7 separate regions of the Homo sapiens genome follow, and regions 1, 2, 3, 5, 6 and 7 are each linked to region 4. Evidence: promoter capture Hi-C in 16 types of primary human blood cells and fetal thymus (Javierre and others, 2016). All regions are on one chromosome and are shown on one strand. Each heading gives the region's core, a stretch centred on a gene start or on the middle of the fragment in contact. The rest is flanking DNA. Distances are from core to core; before and after follow the strand shown. Region 1 overlaps MEGF10 (multiple EGF like domains 10). Region 2 overlaps MEGF10 (multiple EGF like domains 10). Region 3 has its middle 26 kb from the start of PRRC1. Region 4 holds the start of PHAX (phosphorylated adaptor for RNA export). Region 5 overlaps LOC105379199. Region 6 has its middle 48 kb from the start of PRRC1. Region 7 overlaps MEGF10 (multiple EGF like domains 10).

The links. The method cuts DNA at HindIII sites, captures the fragments that hold promoters and counts their contacts. A CHiCAGO score of 5 or more calls a contact.
Region 1: a fragment that was not itself captured here is called in contact with the fragment with the promoter of PHAX in region 4 in 2 of 17 cell types (monocytes and erythroblasts); the score reaches 5.7 in monocytes.
Region 2: a contact is called between a fragment that was not itself captured here and the fragment with the promoter of PHAX in region 4, in 1 of 17 cell types (monocytes). The highest score is 6.6, in monocytes.
Region 3: a contact is called between a fragment that was not itself captured here and the fragment with the promoter of PHAX in region 4, in 1 of 17 cell types (erythroblasts). The highest score is 5.8, in erythroblasts.
Region 5: a fragment that was not itself captured here is called in contact with the fragment with the promoter of PHAX in region 4 in 1 of 17 cell types (neutrophils); the score reaches 5.8 in neutrophils.
Region 6: a contact is called between a fragment that was not itself captured here and the fragment with the promoter of PHAX in region 4, in 1 of 17 cell types (erythroblasts). The highest score is 5.4, in erythroblasts.
Region 7: a fragment that was not itself captured here is called in contact with the fragment with the promoter of PHAX in region 4 in 1 of 17 cell types (erythroblasts); the score reaches 5.5 in erythroblasts.

What each region holds. Positions count from the first base shown.
Region 1 is chr5:127,304,793-127,307,694 of GRCh38, reverse strand. All of the region lies in intron 1 of MEGF10 (multiple EGF like domains 10), which reads right to left. Among named protein-coding and RNA genes, the nearest start is that of MEGF10, 15 kb to the right of the region's middle. The HindIII fragment of the contact is 1,260 bases long and covers 792-2,051 here.
Region 2 is chr5:127,326,605-127,329,375 of GRCh38, reverse strand. The region is part of intron 1 of MEGF10 (multiple EGF like domains 10); the gene reads right to left. Among named protein-coding and RNA genes, the nearest start is that of MEGF10, 37 kb to the right of the region's middle. The HindIII fragment of the contact is 2,062 bases long and covers 220-2,281 here.
Region 3 is chr5:127,489,962-127,492,661 of GRCh38, reverse strand. No RefSeq gene overlaps it. Among named protein-coding and RNA genes, the nearest start is that of PRRC1, 26 kb to the left of the region's middle. The HindIII fragment of the contact is 370 bases long and covers 1,183-1,552 here.
Region 4 is chr5:126,599,626-126,602,325 of GRCh38, reverse strand. It overlaps PHAX (phosphorylated adaptor for RNA export), which reads right to left and starts at 1,379. Exons shown (of 5, transcript NM_032177.4): 1 at 1,268-1,379. The coding sequence starts at 1,363. RefSeq lists enhancers at 1-599, 600-1,447, 1,448-2,297 and silencers at 962-1,211, 1,332-1,541. The HindIII fragment of the contact is 34,757 bases long and covers 1-2,700 here.
Region 5 is chr5:127,276,193-127,279,087 of GRCh38, reverse strand. The region is part of intron 2 of LOC105379199; the gene reads left to right. It also overlaps a transcript of MEGF10 not described here. Among named protein-coding and RNA genes, the nearest start is that of MEGF10, 13 kb to the left of the region's middle. The HindIII fragment of the contact is 4,674 bases long and covers 1-2,895 here.
Region 6 is chr5:127,468,410-127,471,138 of GRCh38, reverse strand. No RefSeq gene overlaps it. Among named protein-coding and RNA genes, the nearest start is that of PRRC1, 48 kb to the left of the region's middle. The HindIII fragment of the contact is 1,859 bases long and covers 526-2,384 here.
Region 7 is chr5:127,354,368-127,357,160 of GRCh38, reverse strand. The region is part of intron 4 of MEGF10 (multiple EGF like domains 10); the gene reads right to left. Among named protein-coding and RNA genes, the nearest start is that of MEGF10, 65 kb to the right of the region's middle. The HindIII fragment of the contact is 2,718 bases long and covers 20-2,737 here.

The DNA.
Region 1 (2,902 bases), core at 172-2,671, 710 kb before region 4:
AAATATCTCCATCATGGATAGAAGAAAATTTGAATTTGGTCTGAAGTTAGTGAAATTTTGAGACTATGCTAAAGTTGTATTTGAAGAGACATGTCAGTAGAGCTCTTTAGGCTGTGCCCTCACCATGAGCCAACATAGAGGAAGAGCACCCAGGGAAACAGCTGCCCCACAGATATTAGATATTAGTATTCATCCTCAAAATAAACACTTTCAGTCACACAGTCTTATAACTTCCATTCGGTGTGCAGCTCCGTGGCCAGGCAAAACATCTAGCCCAGGCGAAGCTGGGGCTCTGCCATAGCTTTTGCCAGTGATGAACCCTGCCCACCCCATTCTCACCACTCAGCTGCACCCCAACAGCCCAGACATGGCCCCAGAGGCTCCCTAGTCAAGTTCACAGGGTTGGGAAGGGACTTTTTGATCTCTTTGTCTTGTGAAGAAAGAAACTGAGGCACAGAAGAGTTTTTTCAGGTGTCTAACATCATATGGTGTGGCAAAGCTACAACTCAAGGCAAGGTCTTTAGGCTCCAGAGCCAGTATTTTTTTTAGTATTCTGGGTTATCTAACAGAACTCTAGGGGAGAAGCGTGCTCCTTTCACTCCGGAAGGATTTCTTTGTTGTTGTTTCATTCAAGGCCATGCCAAAGCAAAATAAAACAAACATTTTCATGGATTAGTGACATTGGCCTTGAAATCTGCATCACTGTCAATGATTTTCATTTGCTCCAGGATTAGAAAACATTAAAAAAATTACCTCAAGTTAATGCAATTCTAAAAGCAGGCAGCTAAGCTTGGCTCATGAGTAATGCTGGAATCTCAAACTCGGCTGATTCCACCACCCCCCACAACCCAGCATAAAGTACCTTTAAGATAAAACTTGAACTGAGTCAATGAAGCGAAACCTCCTAAAAGCATGTCTCTCCTTAGGTAGCTCCGCTTCGCCTGGACTTCTTTCCTCTAACCATGGGTTCCCCATTGGGCCTTCAACAAGGAATCTGAGGCCCAGCGCTAACCACCCGCGAGCATCTTCGCTTAGCTGCCAACAATGATGGGCCACAGTGAATGGATGGGATGGCCACTGCACATGGCTCTTTCTTCTGGGGCACAGCAGCTGGAGCCAAGCTGTGAGGCCCAGTCCCCTCCTCATTTCTGTAAGTGCACCATGGAAGACGGGCATGGTAGTTCCCAGCATATGCTAAATGGGTTTTGCTCTACCTGGAGTTTTACTTATGCTGGATCCAAATCCTAGACACAGATTGGGAAGTTGCTTGTTTTTTTTAAAGAACTGTTCCTTAGAACTCAGTGACAAACCTCGCCTGGCTTGCACAGACCTTTCTTCACTCACTAACACTTTGTTCTGAAAATCTGCCTGTCAGGACTTGGTTGCCATCCTTCTCAGCAGTGACATATTCACCATTAAAGGAAACAGAGAGGGCACAGTCAGCCACTAACCCATGAAAACACTGTAGTCTCTCTTATGTACCAGTGAATGGATCCACACGGCACCGGGGCCCTAATTACATGGCCTCATTTTTGTAAATAGCACAACCTGGCCAAGAAATGAAAAATGGTCTTCCAAATTCTCTAGCTAAGCAGAAAACTCCTTAGGTTAAGCTACAAGAAACCTTCCTTGGGTGAAGAGTTAATGTCTCAGTTAATGCCTGCCACACCTGAACTCTAGAAAAAGTCAGAAAGATCAGAGTCCTGTCCTTTAGGGAAAGAGCTACACATAAGCACATGCTCGAGCTTCTATAAACAGATTAAGGTGATCACTTTCTGAAGATATTTGGCTTTCATAGCAATGCAGTATAATTCAATATCTTCAACCAAAGATGATTGTGCAGGGAGGTGACAACTAGACCTAGATGGTTAGCTTATAGGATATTCATAATCATAAAAATCAGATTCTATAGCAGCCATGGACTTTAGTGAGGCACTCTAAACCATCCCCGGTGGCTGCACAAACAAAACAGCATTTACATACTGCCTTGGAAGGAAAGCAAGGGACTTTTTTTTCCAGCCCTAGCTTGGCAGAGCTCCACATCACAAGCTTTTTTGTCTCTGTTTTTGCTTTGTTGTTTTTTTTAATGGCGGAAGAAAAGTGCCTTTGCTTCAGGTTGGCCTTCACCAAAATAAAAGTGGACCATCTGGCTTAGCTATAGTGAGGAACTCTCCACACCTGAATCCTTGGCTGGGTTCAGGCACAGTCATCACTCTTCTGGAAGCAGGATCTCTTGGGTGCAAGGAACCACCTCACATGTCTCCTAGGCTAGGTGAAGTGTTTCCTCACTGGCAGGCCTCTGCTACTCAGCCTCCCCTCACACTTTCACCCCCTCAAATCTGGGTGCATCCTATGAACACACAGCTATGAGGCCAATTGTTCAATAACTAAAAGTCTGAAATACAAACTGTCCAGACTCTTTCCTTACCTCATATTCTCCGACGATGGTTCTCACTAGTTTTGATCTATTTCACTGCTCATTAGCACCTCCTCTAGAGGAAAAATGAGTCTTGGGGGAATTTTAACCAACAAATTCTGTAACCTTTTGGCCTCACTAATGTATGATAGGAAATAAAGTCAACATTATCCATTTAAATGAGTATTAGGACTGTGGGTTAGGTTCAGTTTTTCATGTTTTTCTTATGTCACCACAATTCTGAATAATCTTGAAATTAGGTCCACAAATACTCTTTTAATGTTTTCGTCTGCTCAGGCTGTTAACAAAATACCATAGACAGGGTGGCTTAGCCAGTAGAAATTTATTTCTTATGGTTCTGGAGGCAGGAAGTCCAAGATCAAGGTCCTAGCCAATTTGGTTTCTGGTAAGGGCTCTCTTTCTCAATCTCTTTCCACAAGCTTCGAGGCATCCTTCTGAATACACTCATAGGAACACACCTCCAGG
Region 2 (2,771 bases), core at 1-2,500, 730 kb before region 4:
GTTTGACTTGGAATAAGGAAAAAATCATGAATTTGTAGTATAATTAAAAGATATTGTGTAAGCCATTAAAGAAGCTGTAAAATCTTAAAAAGGATATTTCAATGGTCACTAAATAATTCCAATAGATAAAGCGTAAATAGTTAACCAAAATTAACTTATAGATTAATTCAAATTATTGACATTTCTCACATGCATCATGAAGTTGTAAAATCTGAAGCTTAACATTATATAAAGAAGCTATTTCATTTAAGGGGAATGAATAAAAAATGATGATGATAATAATAAACAATAACAGATAACATTTCCTGACCGATTACTGTGTGCCAGACACAGTACTGAGCCATTTATGTGAATTATCTATGTAATCCTTACAGCAACTTAACTAAGAAGTAGTAGTTTTTATTGTCCCTGTTTTACAGTTGAAGCCGTGTAATATACAGCTAGTGTTTTCCTCATCCATCAAAAAAATCTTTAATATATTTGGCTGTAACAAATGAGCATGGCAATTATTTCCTTGTCTCATTGCTTTATCTATGTGAGAAGTATTTCCCTTCAACGAAGTGTGAAATGTGTTTAGCTTTCATTCTTTCCTCAAAGACATGAAGGCTGGTAAGCAGTAACCTACTCATAAACAATTACCCCAAATTGGAAAGTTTATTTCCTGAGTCATCTCAGACTCAAACCATCCATTTACCAATTAGAAATGTTTAGTCTATAAAGTTAGAAATTGTCCCAAGCCATGAATCAAAGTCCCAGAACAAGAAAGAGGTTGTGAGTTTTATTTTAATGTAAAAATATTGACACTAATCTTCTGGTTTCTCTTCTTGCTTTGTATCTGATGCATTGCCCTGTGAAGAGGAGATGACAGAGAAAAAGCAGAATTTGGCCACCTTCTCATTGCTTTGGAAGTTCAGTATACAGAAATATCAAACTGCATTGAAAAGTCGCAGGTACCATTTTTGAAAGAAAAAATATCAGTACATTGAAAAATATGTGTGTGTGTGTATATGTGTGGATGTATGTGTGTATTACTTGGTATCTTTGTCCCAATACGTTTTCCTAATTAAAATTAGAAAATTAACTGAGCTCTAGAATAGTCTGAAAAACCAAAAAGAATTGTTTGATCAAGAGGCAAGGATCATGCAAATTCACATAAGCTGGTTAAAACTGTTTGAGAAAATAACACAGATGTTATAGACGATGAGGAGAGAAGACATCTCACAAATATGCCAATAAGCTGTAGAGAACTAAGAAACACAGCATTTCTCTAAATTAGGAAACATGGATTGTCCTTTCATTCTATCTTGTTTAATAAAGGCACTGAGATGCAATCAAAATCAGAAGTTGATAGGACATTTAGGCCAGGCGTGGTGGCTCACTCCTGTAATCCCAGCACTTTGGGAGGCAGAGGCGGGTGGATCACCTGAGGTCAGGAGTTCGAAACCACCCTGGCCAACATGGTGAAACCCTGTCTCTACTAAAAATTAGAAGAAATTAGCCAGGCATGCTGGCAGGTGCCTATAATCCCAGCTACTTGGGAGGCTGAGGCAGAAGAATTGCTTGAACCTGGGAGGCGGAGGCTGCAATGAGCCAAGATCGTGCCATTGCACTCCAGCCTGGGCAACAGGAGTGAAACTCTATCTCAAAAAAAAAAAAAAAAAGAAAAGAAAAGAAAAGAAAAAAGCAGCAGATAGGGCATTCATTTACTTTTTCCCTATCTTCTTTGTTTTCTTCTATAGGTTTTGGTGAGTAAACATAGTGAGTACCCTTTTTCCACTATGCCTACTCTGAAGAAGGAAAGTCCAGTAAATTTATTCTTCCTCATTTCTCTCTTCTATGCTGTGTCATCCTGTCTTATAATTTTCCACTTTGGAATGCAAATGAAAACAAAATGCAATTTTTTAAAAATAGTATTATTTCAATTGAAAACAAAGGCAATGCAGTGGTGATTTGCTTCATTAAGATAGACATTTTGAATATATTCAAATCTCTAAATTGGGTGTTGGCTACCCTCACCCACTCAGACTTCCTCTTCAAATAACTTCCTTATGATTCCGTTTAACAAAATTTAAAATGTAAAAAAATAAAGAGTCATTTGCATGAACCCCCTAGTGCCAAACTTGATTGCATTTCAGATCATTCACTTAATTATTATGGAAAAATCAAAACAAAATCAGTACAACTGATTAGCATTGCTAAAGTGCTCCTATTAGAAAGGGAAACAGCCCACAGAGTTAACCCTTGCTGTCTGTGTTTTGCAGCTCCACTTGGAAGGCAAGCTTTGCTTATTCTACCACAAAAGCCTCAGTAAATAATCAGGATGAATAAAATCCTTACAATGGATGAGTCTTAGTTCTGATGATAAGCAGTAGTTTCTTTATCATTGAGTTAAAGAGAAATAAATAATGGGGTGTTGACTTACTAATTTATTTTTGAAACAACAGAGGGGAAAATTATTCCAGATGATTCCTTTTGGCTCCAAAATCTATTTTCTTCCTAGAATCAATTAAGTGCACACATAGAAATAACTTCGGTACCCTCAACCAGTTTTTTCTCAAGCTCATTTTCTGCTACTCACATATCGCTAAGATTCTCTCACATATCTCTAAGTTAAATTAAAACAAATTTATTGATTAAGAATAGCCACTTTTCAACAAGAGCCATCCATTTCACCTGACCACTCCATCGTGTTATCTATAAAGGATGTACTCACTGTTCCTCAAACTACTCAGAAAGGCCGGCAGAGGCAGTGTGCTAAGTTCTTCCTGGAG
Region 3 (2,700 bases), core at 118-2,617, 890 kb before region 4:
CATTATAACCATGTGAAGAATAAGAAATTACTTTAGAGATTCTCATAAATTAAAATTTTTTAAAAGGAATGAATTGCTTTCTAAAAAGACACAAAGAATATACATGATCTAATACAACAAAATCTATAAGCAACATCTTACTGGCATTTAGTAAAGGTTAAATCCTTACTCTATATAGGCAATTTTCCCCATGTAATTATATTTTAGTTTAAATTAAATTTTAGGTATACAAATTTTGATCCACAGGGATTTTTTGGTAATTCTGTTCTAATTATTTTTTAATTTCCATTATCTTCTTTGATTTATGACTTATTTAAAACTGTGTTTTAAACTTTCCAATTGTATGAGGATTTTATCTTTATTTTTTGATTTCTAATTTTGTTACATTGAGATACAAGAATGGGTCTACATTATGTTTGGTTTTTTTTTAAGGCTCAAATTTTGGGTGCAGGTAGGTGTGTGTGTGTGTGTGTGTGCGCATGTGTAAGAGAAAGAGAAGATTTTAGCTGTGACTTTTTTGTTATCTTGATGTTTCAGCTAAAGTCTCAGCTTCTCAATGTGCATGTTTGCTGGGCATTCTAAGATAATGTGAGACTGGGTTTACAAAACTTAAATCATCCTTCGCTTCAAATGCTGTATGAAACCAGGCTAGAGAATTGGTTATGGGATGATAAAGATGAAGAAAAGAAGTACAGTATTTCTTTAAAGAGAAAATTGGAGAATCATGATGTTTCTCGTCTCCATCTAGATGTGGCGCTAATGCTACTCTCATTTTAATCCCAGCCAGGGACATATATTGACAGAAACAATCAAAGAGCAAGACAGATGCTCCCTAGAATTTGAGGACACAGTAATTGGTATGGGGTTCATGAGTAAATATATTCTAAAAGTTAGAGCCAAAGTGATCTGCTTAGAAATGGACTGCACTTTCATAGTCTGTTAGGGCAAAAGTGAATGTACATTTCTCTCAAGATTTTATGGCTACTTGGGAGGGACATACTACCTAAAAGTATTACTTAGAAGAATAGGTAGCCACAACAGTAGGGTGAGCTGCTAGAATCTAGTAGCTAAGCTTAGGGTTTGTAAGCTGTATGCATGAGCAATACTGCGGGATCTTTCACAGTTTTTTACAAAACTGCCTTTAAAAGAAAGAGCACTGCGTGTGGAATACAAAGCAAAGCTTCATACCAGATTGTGACCCTGTGAGCCTTGAAAAATTGTTTTCTCCTTAATGCCCCTTTTATATCCTTCCTTCTCTTCCCATTGACCAAAAGCACATCCAGCAAGTGAGAAGGGGGTGTACGAAGAAAGAGGAAAGAAGCCAACCACGTCCTGCTTTCTCGTTGTAAGTTTTTGAACCCATGTGAGCTGAGCTGGGGAAGGAGAATCATCTAAAATTGGATGAGAATGTAGGGTTTATATTTGACTATGCTGTATTTTATCACATGAAAATGATTAGAAGAGCTATAAAACTTGTCAATATTTCATTCAGGAGCAAAGTCTTTAGAAGTTGAAAGATTAGTTAGTTTCTCCTTGCACTTTGCAACAAGCTTGATAGTTCAATATACCATGTATAAGGATACAAACAAATATAGCCACATTCTTATCCATATCTATTCCTATATCTATGCTATGTACACACACACACACACACACACACACACACACACATTAGCCCAAGATGGTTAATTCGATTTTTTAAATGTGTATACTTTTCCCAATGTTTGACATTTTCTACTTTTTCTCGAAATTCTTCAAATTTTCTTTACATAGTTTGAAGCTATCTTGTTCACATGGGTTCAGAATTATGGCTTACGGGTAAATTGTTTATTTAGCCACATGTTGGAATTTGGTTGTCCCTAATAAATCTTTTGCCTTACAGTCTATTTTGTTTGAAATTAATGTAATAACAACCATCTTCTTTTGGTTAGTGTTTGCTTTTCCATCTTTGAAGTTTCTATTTTTCTGCACCATTATGCTTTAAGTATGTGTTTTTTTTTGTTTTTTTTAGATGGAGTCTTGCTCTGTCTGGAGTGCAGTGGCACTATCTCAGCTCAGTGCAACCTCTGCCTCCTGGCATTTAGCAAAGGTTAAATCCTTACTCTATACAGGCAATTTTTTCCCCTAACATATGTATTTATATTTCCCTTTCAATTAAATTTTAGGTACACAATTTTTGTATTTTTAGGAGAGACAGGGTTGCACCTTGTTGGCCAGGCTGGTCTCAAACTACTGGCCTCAGGTGATCTGCCAGCCTTGGCCTCCCAAAGTGCTGGGATTACAGTCGTGAGCCGTTGCACCTGGCCCTTTTGAGTACGTCTTTTAAATAGCACAGAGCTGGGTTTTGTTATTTTACACAATATAAAACTCTTTGTCTTTTATCTGGAAAGTTTAATTCATTTTATTATTTTTATTTTTATTTTAGATTTATTTCTATAATCTTATTTTGTGCTTTTTATCTCTACCAGCTTTCTATGCTTCTTTTTCCTTCTTTCTCATTCTCAATTGGATTAATCTAATTTTTTATATTTCCTTTTTGCACCATCACTAATTCCACTCTGCATTGATTTTATTTCTATATTTTATAGGTATACTTCACTGAATAAGTTAATTTTCATAAAGTCATACAAGAAGCTTAAAAATCAAAACTTTCATGTGTAGGCTTATGAGGAAAAGGAGCAAGCCTAGCCTGTCTATTCT
Region 4 (2,700 bases), core at 130-2,629:
GGCACCAACGCCCTCTCAAAGAGGTTGCTACCTACCAAGGCAGTCAAGACAAATTCCCGTTTAGAAAGCAGGGAAGCTGGGCCGGGCGCGGTGGCTCGCGCCTGTAGTCCCAGCACTTTGGGAGGCCGAGGCGGGTGGATCACTTGAGGTCGGAAGTTCAAGACCAGCCTGGCCAACATGGAGAACCCCCGTCTCTACTAAAAATACAAAAATTAGGCCGGGCGAGGTGGCTCACGCCTGTAATCCCAACACTTTGGGAGGCCGAGGCGGGCGGATCACCTGAGGTTGGGAGTTCGAGACCAGCCTGACCAACATGGAGAAATCTCGTCTCAACTAAAAATACAAAATTAGCTGGATGTGGCCGGGCGCCGTGGTTCACACCTGTAATCTCAGCACTTTTGGAGGCCGAGGCAGGCCGATCACTTGAGGTCAGGAGTTCGAGACCAGCCTGGGCAACATGGTGAAACCCCGCGTCTACCAAAAATACAAAAATTAACCGGGCGTGGCAGCGGGCGCATGTAATCCCAGCTACTCGGGAGGCTGAGGCAGGAGAATCGCTTGAACCCGGGAGGCGGAGGTTGCAGTGAGCCGAGATCGCGCCACTGCACTCCAGCCTGGGCAACAGCGTGAGACCACCTCAAAACAACAAACAAAATCAGAGAGGCTAATGCAAAAGCCTAGTGCCATGGTACCGCATGACAAAGCTAGGTTCGGTGGAAACATGGAAAACCAGATCTTTGAGTGAGCGATAAACTTCATTCCTGGGCCTCAGTCTCCCTTCGGCTCAGGGAGAAAATGAGCATCACAGGCTGTTTCAGGCTGATGTCCCTAGATGCTACATATTTGGCAAAATCTGCCCCTTTATGGTTACCTAGCGGCGATGGAGTGGGGAAGCCCCAAGTTTAGAAAAGAAAGAGCGGTAGGCGGAGGTGAGACGTCTAAGAGGCCGCCGCAAGCCGGCCTCCAGGAGGCGCCAGGGCTCGCGCGCCCCGCCTCGCAGGGAGCAGCCAGTTCGGGGTTCGCACGGCCAGCCGCTGCCGCTGCCGCCGTCGCCCCTCGCCCCTCGGCCCCCGCAGCCCGGGCTCCGTGAGCCCGCCTGGGGGACGTCTGCTCGCCCCTTCTGCGGCCACTGACCCGACAGCCTGGGCTCCTCGCTCTGGCCCGGGCTCCTAGCTCCCACCCCTCACCCTCACCGCTGCCTGCGCGCTCCCCGGGGCCCAGGCTCCGCGCGCCCAGCCACGATCACCCACCCTCCTTTCACACTCACTGGCAATTGCAGCGGCCTGTCGCTGGGTGCGACCGTCATGTCGGAATCCGAGTCGGAAAGCTGCCCATCTTCCATATCGCCGACCTCCAACGCCATCTTCCCGCGGTGCGCTGCGCTGCACAGCGGCGGGTCAGGAGAGCACTTCCGGCGGGGCAGCCGGAAGGCCCGGCGGCTCGGCTGCTCGGGCGCCCCCGCGCGGAGGCCAGCCTGTCCCAGCGGCCTGAGGCGTCCCATTGCATTCCAACTACCCCGGGAAAATGAATCCCTTGTTCCCCCAACACTTTTCTTCCAAACTTTATTTTCGTGCAAACATAAATATGTCACGTATCGCGGTCGTCTGGGATTCCTCCCTTGGCCGTACATCCTTCCCCTGTATGCTCTGGACAAGCCTCCCCGCTTCTGTTCTTGCTCCTCCACAATCCACTCTACATATTGCTTCCAGGGAAGCCTTTCAAGCTGTATAGTCCGCCCTCTGTATCCACTCCCCATCCACGGATGCCGAACCTGCGGATGGGAAGGACCCACCGTGCACCCCCACATAATGTAAGGGGCTTGAGCATGGCGGATGTTGGTATCTGTGGGGGTCCTGAAAACAATGACCCGCGGATACCTAGGGAGGATTGTACCTTAGCTCGAATCTTCCAAGTGCATCCCTCCCCAAAACAAGGACTGAGTTCTCAGCATGGTGTTTGAAATGTTTGTTTTCCGGTGTCGTAAAGAAATAGCAACATAAATTTAACTTACTGAATAAGGCCATTTTTACTTTCTGCAGAAAGGGTACACTCGCCAGCAGTTTTGCCAGGAGAGTACACTGAACAAAAGGAGACAGGGTCATTTATAACCTGACGTGTTTACCTTACTGCTGTGGCTGGTTTTTATTGGCTGGACCGGACCTCACATTTTGTATTTGTCCCGATTGGCTAGCAACTTAGAACTTTTTAAAAGAGGCAAAGGTAGAGGAGAACAAAGGAAGGAGGAAGTAACTTGTGGAATGCTGAGAAAGATGAAAACACTTTTAAATAAGGAAGAGGAACAGGCTATGACCTAATGCTTGCTTGGACTAGTAAAAGCATGCCAGGGCAAATATTTAGGCTAAATTGTGGGAGCTAAGAACATAAAGTACATTTTTTTTTATTATGGCTAGCAGATATTTAAGAATGTTAGCACAGATCTTTGAATAAATTTTGCTTTTAAGAGAAGTTACTATTTATTCCTAATTAGACGGGGAGGAAAGTTTTTGAAGAGGAACCTCTGTTTTACTTTGCCACATGGCAAACAAGGTCATGTGGACTGGGCATCTGGTCACTGGTCCTAGTGTGTCCCCCTGCCTAACCGCTGGCGCGCTGAACCTGTTGTTCCTCAGGCCAGGCCTCTGCATTTGCTGTTCACTCGGCCTGAGAGGCCCTTCCCTCAACCCACCCCATTCTTTAAGG
Region 5 (2,895 bases), core at 373-2,872, 680 kb before region 4:
CTCTTGCTGCATTTTACTCACCCGGCAAAATCCCAGTGCTGGTTCAGTCCAACTCTCCACAAACTCCATGGTGGCACTGGTGCAATTTAATGTGTTGGAGAAAAGTAAAAATACAAACATTAATGAGCATCACTCTAAATTCATGACTACTAGTACTAAGTGGATCCTTGGCACTACCCAGCAACCCAATTATAACTCCTTAGTTCACTTGCTCTTCCATTCTTCTAGATGGTGACCTTCTCTCTTTTCAAACATCCAATATCTCATCTTTCATCTTCACTGTCAGTTGAAGACCTTGCTTCTCATTTCCCTATTTCACTGAGAAAACTGAAGCAATTAGAGAAGAATCTCCACAAACTTCTGCAACTACAGCTGGTCATCCACCTTCATGTCTGGTCGTGTGCTTTGTCTTCCCTCCTGATGAATTGACCACACTCTCATTTAAGGCTGTCCTCCTCACTTATGCACTAAATTCTTTCCCTTGGGCCTCCCAAATGACGTGGATTTCTCCCTGTCTTTCCTGCATTATTAATTCTCTCCTCTCAACAAGAGTATTCCCATCAGCATTCACAAATATTTCTTCCACTTAAAAAAAGAACTCTGTTTGGTTCTCCTCCTACAGCTATTCTCTTCACTGTAAACTCCTTGAATTAAATTTCTAAACTTAGTATCATATATTTTCCTTCTATTCTCTCTTAAATCTCCTCTAATCAGGGTTTTGGCCCCAACCCTCAATTTAATACTGCTCTCTTTTTTTTTTCAAGGTAATCAAATGAGATCCAATTTGCTGAAACCAATTGTCAGAAACATTTTTCTCTTCCCTTCATTGAATATCTTCCTTGACTTGATATCCTGGATACCAGACTTTTTATAGTTTTCCCTTTTTCTCTCTGGTGGCTCCTTCTGTGTTACCTTTGTTGGTTTCTTCACATCTTTCCAACCTCTAAATTTTGAAGTGCCCAGGTCTCAGTCATTGGATCACTTTTCTTTTCTAGCTACAATAACTCCATAAACTATCTCATTCAGGCTCAGAACTATAAATACCATTCCTTTACTGACCACTCCTAAATATAGATCTTCAGGCTTGACCTCTGCCCAGCTGCCTCCTGGACATCACCACTTGGTTCACAGATGTGCATCTCAAAATTAATATGTTCAAAACCCAACTCCTAATTTTCCCCCAACAGTCTGCCCTTCCCAAATTCATCCTTGTCATCTCCATCTCAGCAAATGGCATCTTTTTCCTTTCATTTGCTTATATCAAAAACCTTGGTGTCATCCTTGAGCTGCTCTTTCTCTCACACCCTCCATTCAAACTATAAGCAAATTCTGTAGGCTCTACCTTCAAAATACATTCACCAACCTACTCCAGACCTTCATCATTACCCCTGAATTAATGCAGTGGTCTCTTTATTGTTCTCCCTGTTTCTGACCTTAACCCTCCACCAACCACTCCCAGTGCCACAGCTAAAGTTATCTTGTTAAAACATAAGTTAGATCATGTTTCTCTCTTACTCTAGCCCCCATGTTCTCCCATCTTAGAGTCAAAGTGTTCACAGTGCCTCTGTTTCAAGTCTTGTTCTCCAGAAAATGGACTCTGAGATGGAGATTTGTAAGCAGGAGGTTTCTTGGGTTTGCTCTCAGGAGTAACACTTGTAAGGAAGTGAGGAAAGCAGAATTCGGCAGAAGGACCAGTGGACTGTGATACAGTTACAATAGGCCCACAGAGCTGGCCTGAATTGAGGCAAGAGCACCCAACTCCTATACTCCCTCAATGACAGTCTTTGGATGTGGTCTGCTCCCAGGAGAGAGCATAACCTTGCAAATGAAGTTCTTTTCTGTTGAAGGCAATTCCAGATGAGGAACTGAGCTAGGAGCCATCTACATCCAAAAACTCTTGCACCTGGGGAAATGAGTGCCTTGGTCCTGAAGCGCACATGGTATCCACTACTCTCAGTGCTTCTTGGTTTTATCTTCTGCTCTCCTCTTGCTCTATACTTCAGATACTTTGCTCTCCTCTTGCTCTATACTTCAGATACTTTGGTCCCCTTGCTTTTATTCAAATACACCAGACTGACTTCTACCTTAGAGCCCTTGCAGTTCCCTCTGCCTGGAATGTGTGGCTTGCTCCCTGATCTCCTACACATCTTACTCAAATTTCATCTTCTCAATGAGCCTTCTTATTCAGTATTGTAGCCCATCACCCCTTCCCCAACACACCTGATCCCCTTTACCATGCTCTACCTTTTCTTTTTTAATACCACTTTTCACCTTCTACTATCCTATATAATTTACTTATTCATTATGTTTATTGTTTGCTATGTCTTTCTCCCACTAAAATAAAAACTTCTTAATCTTTGCCTATTTTGTGTACTGATGTATCTCAAGCATGAAGAGATGTCCTCATGCATAGCAATTCTCAAATATAATGAATATATTTTAAACAAAAGTTTTATAACTCAGTAGAGGATTTTTGTTTTCCACTTGGAAATTATCTTTCCTAAGTAGGAAATTCTTTTTAACATCACAGTCTTCTGAATATGAATTTATTAAGTCACTTAATCCATTTGCCCAAACCACAGAGTTGCCCAAACACAGCTCTCAGTTGAAGCAGGCTTATCTCTCAGATTATAATAATTATCTCACTCCTGCTATAAAAGTAAAGGAAGGGAGGAGAAGCTGCACATAATGAATTAATTAATCAAGGCTTTAATTTTTCTTTAAACCCAGGGAATTCATATTAGCCTGCCTTGTTATTTACCCAACTACCCTCTGGGATATTAATACTATATCCTACGGTTTACAGCCTTAAATGGTCATGATGTGTTTACACAGGTGAAGAGCAAGTGCTCTGGCAGAGCCTTTCCTTACATTTCTTGTACATTAATTTACCTC
Region 6 (2,729 bases), core at 206-2,705, 870 kb before region 4:
GTGGCAGAGTTTGAGAAGATTGACCCCAATTTTTGAAAGAAGTTCTACTATGGGTAAAATGCTATCAAGCAGCATCACATGCTACAGAGAAATCTTGCATGAAAGGAAGAGTCAATCAATGCAACAGATTTCATTGTTGTCTTATATTTAGAAAACATCTCAGCCACTTCAACCTTCAGCAACAACCACCCTGATAAGTCAGCTACCATCCACATTAAGGTAAGATCGTAAACTACCGAAAAGATGATTTGTCGAAGGCTCAGCAGTTTTTAGCAATAAAGTATTTTTAATTATGTTCATTTTTAGATATAATGCTATAATGCACATAATGCACACTTAATAGGCTATAGTATTGTGTAAACATAACTTTAATATACACTGGAAAACCAAAACATTTGTGTGACTCACTTTATTATGATAGTATCTTTATTGCAGTGATCTGGGACCTGCAATATATCTGAGGTATATGCCTGTATGTAAAGTTGCATGACAGTGTTTTAATAGATTGTGCTTAGTCTTTAAGCTTTCACTTAATGGCAATGTGGCTTCTTAATATTTATGATATTTAATACTGATTTTTGTCTTAAAAGTGTCTAAAACATTTAGTGAGTTACATAATGTTTTTATATTGGCTCACGCCATCAAAAACTTTCAGTGGGAACCTATCTTACATGTACCATGTGCTGATGTCAAAGAGAAGTGAGTTTTCTCACCAAAGGAAAAATGCTCTTTTAACAACAAAAAGGCATTTTTCTATTAATTAATATACATGGTTCCTCACTCTGGGTTTAAGGGTATTCATTGGCAATCATCTTATACTTTTCTCTAAGAGGGAAAAGAGCAATATTGTAAGCCTCTGTATCTTTTTTCTTGCACTGTTTTCTCCCTTTCTCCACTTTATAAATAATGCATCGTTCCTGAAGTCCAACATTTCAGAGCCTGTCAAGGGTCTCTCTCAATATCGCAGGCAAGTAAGAAAAATCTAGCCTTTCATTCTGGTGTTTTAAGATTACCTTTTTTGAATGGCTTAACTCTAGTTTGTTTTCTGCCAGAAGTAAGATCTACCTGCAGTAAAAATAAAATATTCAGTACACTTTATTTTTACTTAATTTGCAGCTGAAACCAAGGATAAAGGCCAACCATTGCTATTTATCAATGCCCAGCTAATTAGTGAGTAAAAAGATGAAAGTGAATCTTTTAAAAACTAGTCTAATATGAAGAAAACAACAGTTAACTGAGCTCTTATAACATAGTCGTCTATTTTTAATGGCCTCTGTTAATTAGGCATGCATCCTGGGAAAAGTCTCCAGTGGGCTCTAATAAAGTTAAGGAACACTGTCTGTGTATACTTATAAACAATTGATTAAATAGCTTTGTGCATCAGTGCATTTTTTTTTCTGATTGGCAATTCATAAATAAATCCTCATGCAAAGAGTTTATATATTAAAGGGAATCTGGGACCTTTTAGTAAAGTCATCCTCCAACTCAGTGTTTCACAGGAAAGCCACTAGAGAATAGAACTCCTCCAGGGCCAAATAATTCATTGGATGATCTATTAACAAAAGAGGGAATCCAATTTCCATCATCTATTCCTGGTAAAATGAGTATATCAGAAATATATACACTTGAGGAGACCCAGTTCATGGCATTTTCCTTACTTGAATGGATAAACTCTGTGGACATCAATTTTCCTAGACATAAAATGAACAAGTAGGAGAAAAGCTGCTCTCAGCTCCTTTCCAGCTCCTCTATGGTATAAGTCAATATCAGTGGCTTGGGTAGAGACCTTGTAACCCCTGCTTGAACAATCAGAAATCAAGGTTGTGGTAAACTAGTAATGTGCTGAGGCAGCTCATACAGACTTATGAGAGCCAATTGTTAAATTTTCCAGAATTTCACGAACCACTTGTTAAACACAGCCATTATTAAAATTATTATAGCTAGGTGTGGTGGCTCACACCTATAATCCTAGCACTTTGGGAGGCCGAGGCTGGTGAGTCACTTGAGCCCAGGAGTTTGAGCCCAGCTTGGGCAACATAGTAAAACCCTGTCTCTACAAAAAATAGAAAAATTAGCCAGGGTAGTGGTGCACACCTGTAATCCTAGCTATGTGGGAGGATCACTGGAGCCCAGGATGTTCAGGTCACAGTGAGCTGTGATCACACCACTGCACTCCAGCCTAGTGACAGAGTGAGACCCTGTCTCAAAAAAAAAAAAAAAAAAAGAAAAAAGAAAAAAATTAAAGTATTTGCTACCTTTTACTATTAGCTATGTCCTTGAGGTTAGTTGCATCTATTGTATCTGTAGTGTGAAAATGCTGTATAATGGTGAGCTACTCAGCATCTCTTTCTTACTCTGCATTCAGGGATGACATGTTGGAAGCTTGAAATTACCCACGGTGGGAGGATTTACACTATAGGAACAGTTAGGTGCTACATATCAGTGCCTTCTAATTTTATTTTATTTTATTTTATTTTATTATTTTACTTTATTTTTGAGATGGAGTCTCACTCTGTCGCCCAGGCTGGAGTGCAGTGGTGCCGTCTCGGCTCATTGCAGCCTCCACCTCCTGGGTTCAAGCGATTCTCCTGTGTCAGCTTCCCGAGTAGCTGGGACTACAGGCATGCGCCACTGCACCCAGCTAATTTTTGCATTTTTAGTAGAGATGGGGTTTCACCATGCTGGCCAGGCTGGTCTTGAACTCCTGACTTCAAGTGATCCGCCCGCCT
Region 7 (2,793 bases), core at 129-2,628, 750 kb before region 4:
TCCAGCTTCAACTAAAGCTTTCCCTTTCTTGAGTTGTTAGAACAGATAATATAATTGTCCTTAGAAGAAATTACAGGTCCAAAGAGTCTCAAATAAATTATAAATATTTAAAATTACCCAGTGTATGTTTACAGAAAACAAAATCCCTCAAAGCAGTGTTTTCCAAGTAAGTAGATCCAGAGAACTATTTCTTCCCTTATGTTCTTGGGGAAAGAAAAGGGAAGAGGGTATAGGGAGTAAGGAATTCCATGGTCAAAAAAGTTTGAGACATGCCTTTACTGCAGGCATTCCCAGAGCCTTTAATAGGCTGAAGCAAATCTTCAAGAAATGGGATCCAACATACTGCATTTCCCAAACTAACTGGATAATGCAACAGTGAATTCTGCAGGATGAGTATTCCATATCTCACACTAGAGGGATTCAACTACAGATAATGCCTAGGATCCAAGTTTCTGGAAACCTATTCTCCTCCCTGGATCAACATGTATGTTTCATTCATGGTGGCATATTTCCTTTTATGTCCCTCAATTTCATGCTAAGTACAATAAATTAACTTAGCTATTGTTTTTTAGCTTAAATCTACATTACTTTGATGGCCATATCTTTAAACTTGCCATAACCACTTTTGCCCTTCCAACGTGGCCAGCCGGTCAGGGAGGCCCACCTTGAGCTAATGCTGCCTTCTGTCACTTGAATCAAGAAGTCTGAGTTTCTCTGTCTTAACTCTCTTGGAGCTCTCTGATTTTTTTCCAGCCTTTTTTAGAATTGGTTATCAATAAGCAATATAGGTCTGGACCTTGGGCTACTACTACAACCAAAGGAAAGAAGAATGTCAGTGCAGCATTGATTCTACCAGCGCATCAATCTCTCCCTCCTTTAGCATCTCTTGTGTGTGGCCCAGATGGATGCACTAGGTTTACCACTGGATTATCTGTAAAAGCGCTGGCCGGCGCTATACCAGACTAAAAACATGCAAGTTCTGTCACCACCTGGTCATGTCAATGTTTTGTGGTTGGTCACTTAGATCAAACTGTGTTTTTTCCATTATTTTTAAATTACTTTGCCCTGAAAAGATTTGAACCATAGTACAATAAAAATTGCTTCTCAGTTCTTGGCTTTTATTTTAGCCATTTTCTATCCCTGCAAGGGGATTGCATAAATTATTAGGCCTGTAAAAATCCTACCTGTCCTGCAAAGACTGCAATTTCAGGAACTAATTTTCTAGAGATAAGGCAAGGATTTTTTCATTATTTCCTTTTGACCCTGTCTCCATGGGACTCTAAAGTCAGGCTTTCTCAAGAAAAAAAAAAATAGGCAGCAGATATGATCTCCTTCTGTTTAGATTGAGGCTATCTTGAATTTATAGTGGATTTTTTAAAAATTAAATTCTTAGTTTCTATTTATAAAATCCTAAACACTGAGCAAGCATTGTCAATCAGTAAAGCAACAAAGGTTTCTTGTTATTTATTAGATTTCCTATCTTCCCTGCTAGCAGAGACCAACGACCCAAACTGGAAAGCAGAAGTTTAGGTTCCGATAGATGTGTGGGAAAATTGGAATTTCTGCTGGCACGGTATGTGGACAAAAGGCCTTCCCCTGTATTTACTGGTAGGTTCCTCTGAACCACGTCGGACACCATAGCAACAGAGTACAGGGTCCCTATGGAAACAGGAAAAAAATTCAATGCCGGTGGCAGGGAGGGCATCATGGGTAGGTATATTTGGGAACATACCATCTGATTGTTGTCAGTCAGGCTCTCTTTGACTAGCTTAACAGGATTGTCTCACTTTTATCTCTACTCGAAAGGATCTGCTTAAATGGATCAAAAGACTATGGTTTTTTTTTTAATATTTGACAAGATCACAATTTTATCATTAAACAAGCCTGAGAGAATCAAACAAATCCAAAACAGAAGGCTCTGTCTGCCTCAAACTCCAATAAGAGGTACTCCTCCTTTCCTGAAGCTCTCCTTTTGCTTCCCCAAATCCACCCAAGGAGCCTAGCTTTCCCCTAAACAGACCTCTGCCGAAGGCTAACTCTTCTCACCCCAAAACAAGGCATCTTCCCTGCACTGCAGCTCCTCTCAGCCTAAAGAATCTGGGCCCTAAACTTTTCAGCAGGAAAAGACCAAAATGATACAAAGCCAGGATAAATAATTAAATGTGTCCTCACATAATTGTAAGGTAGGGAAAGAAACTATCTTCAGTTCAGCTCTTCCCAGAAGCCGTGCCCAATTTGCTCAAGCCTGCCAATCCCTCTCCTAATCAGACCCCCCTGTGGCTGACACTGAGGCAAAACATAGCCATTGAAAATCCTTTCCCATCCCCAACACAAAACTGTTGACAATATGATCCCGAGTTAAGCATGTCAAATATTCCAGCTCACAAAGGAAGGTAATTTTTTTCTGGGGACAATAGCAAGAACAGTAAATATAACTTCTCACTTAAATGACAGAGGTAGGTATAACAGGAGCCTTTAGCCAGGTGTGTGATTCAGGAGCCTCGGTTGCTATCTCCATGATTCCAGAATGCCACAGGATACTATGCAGTCAAATACAGGGATGGCAAATGAGGCGCACTCGGGCCACCCACTGCCACTCCAATCCCGTGGCAGAAATCACTAGTGAGTCACTTTGCTCTTTCTCTCTTAGCCCAGACACAGCCTCAGAATCCTTCTAAACACAATGTTCCAGGCAGCCACTTCCAAGAGGTAGCACTCCCTTTCCCAAAAGAAAGCTTTTTGTTAATTCCAGTCTAAAATAACATAATATTCCAATTTTAAAAAGAAGAAATA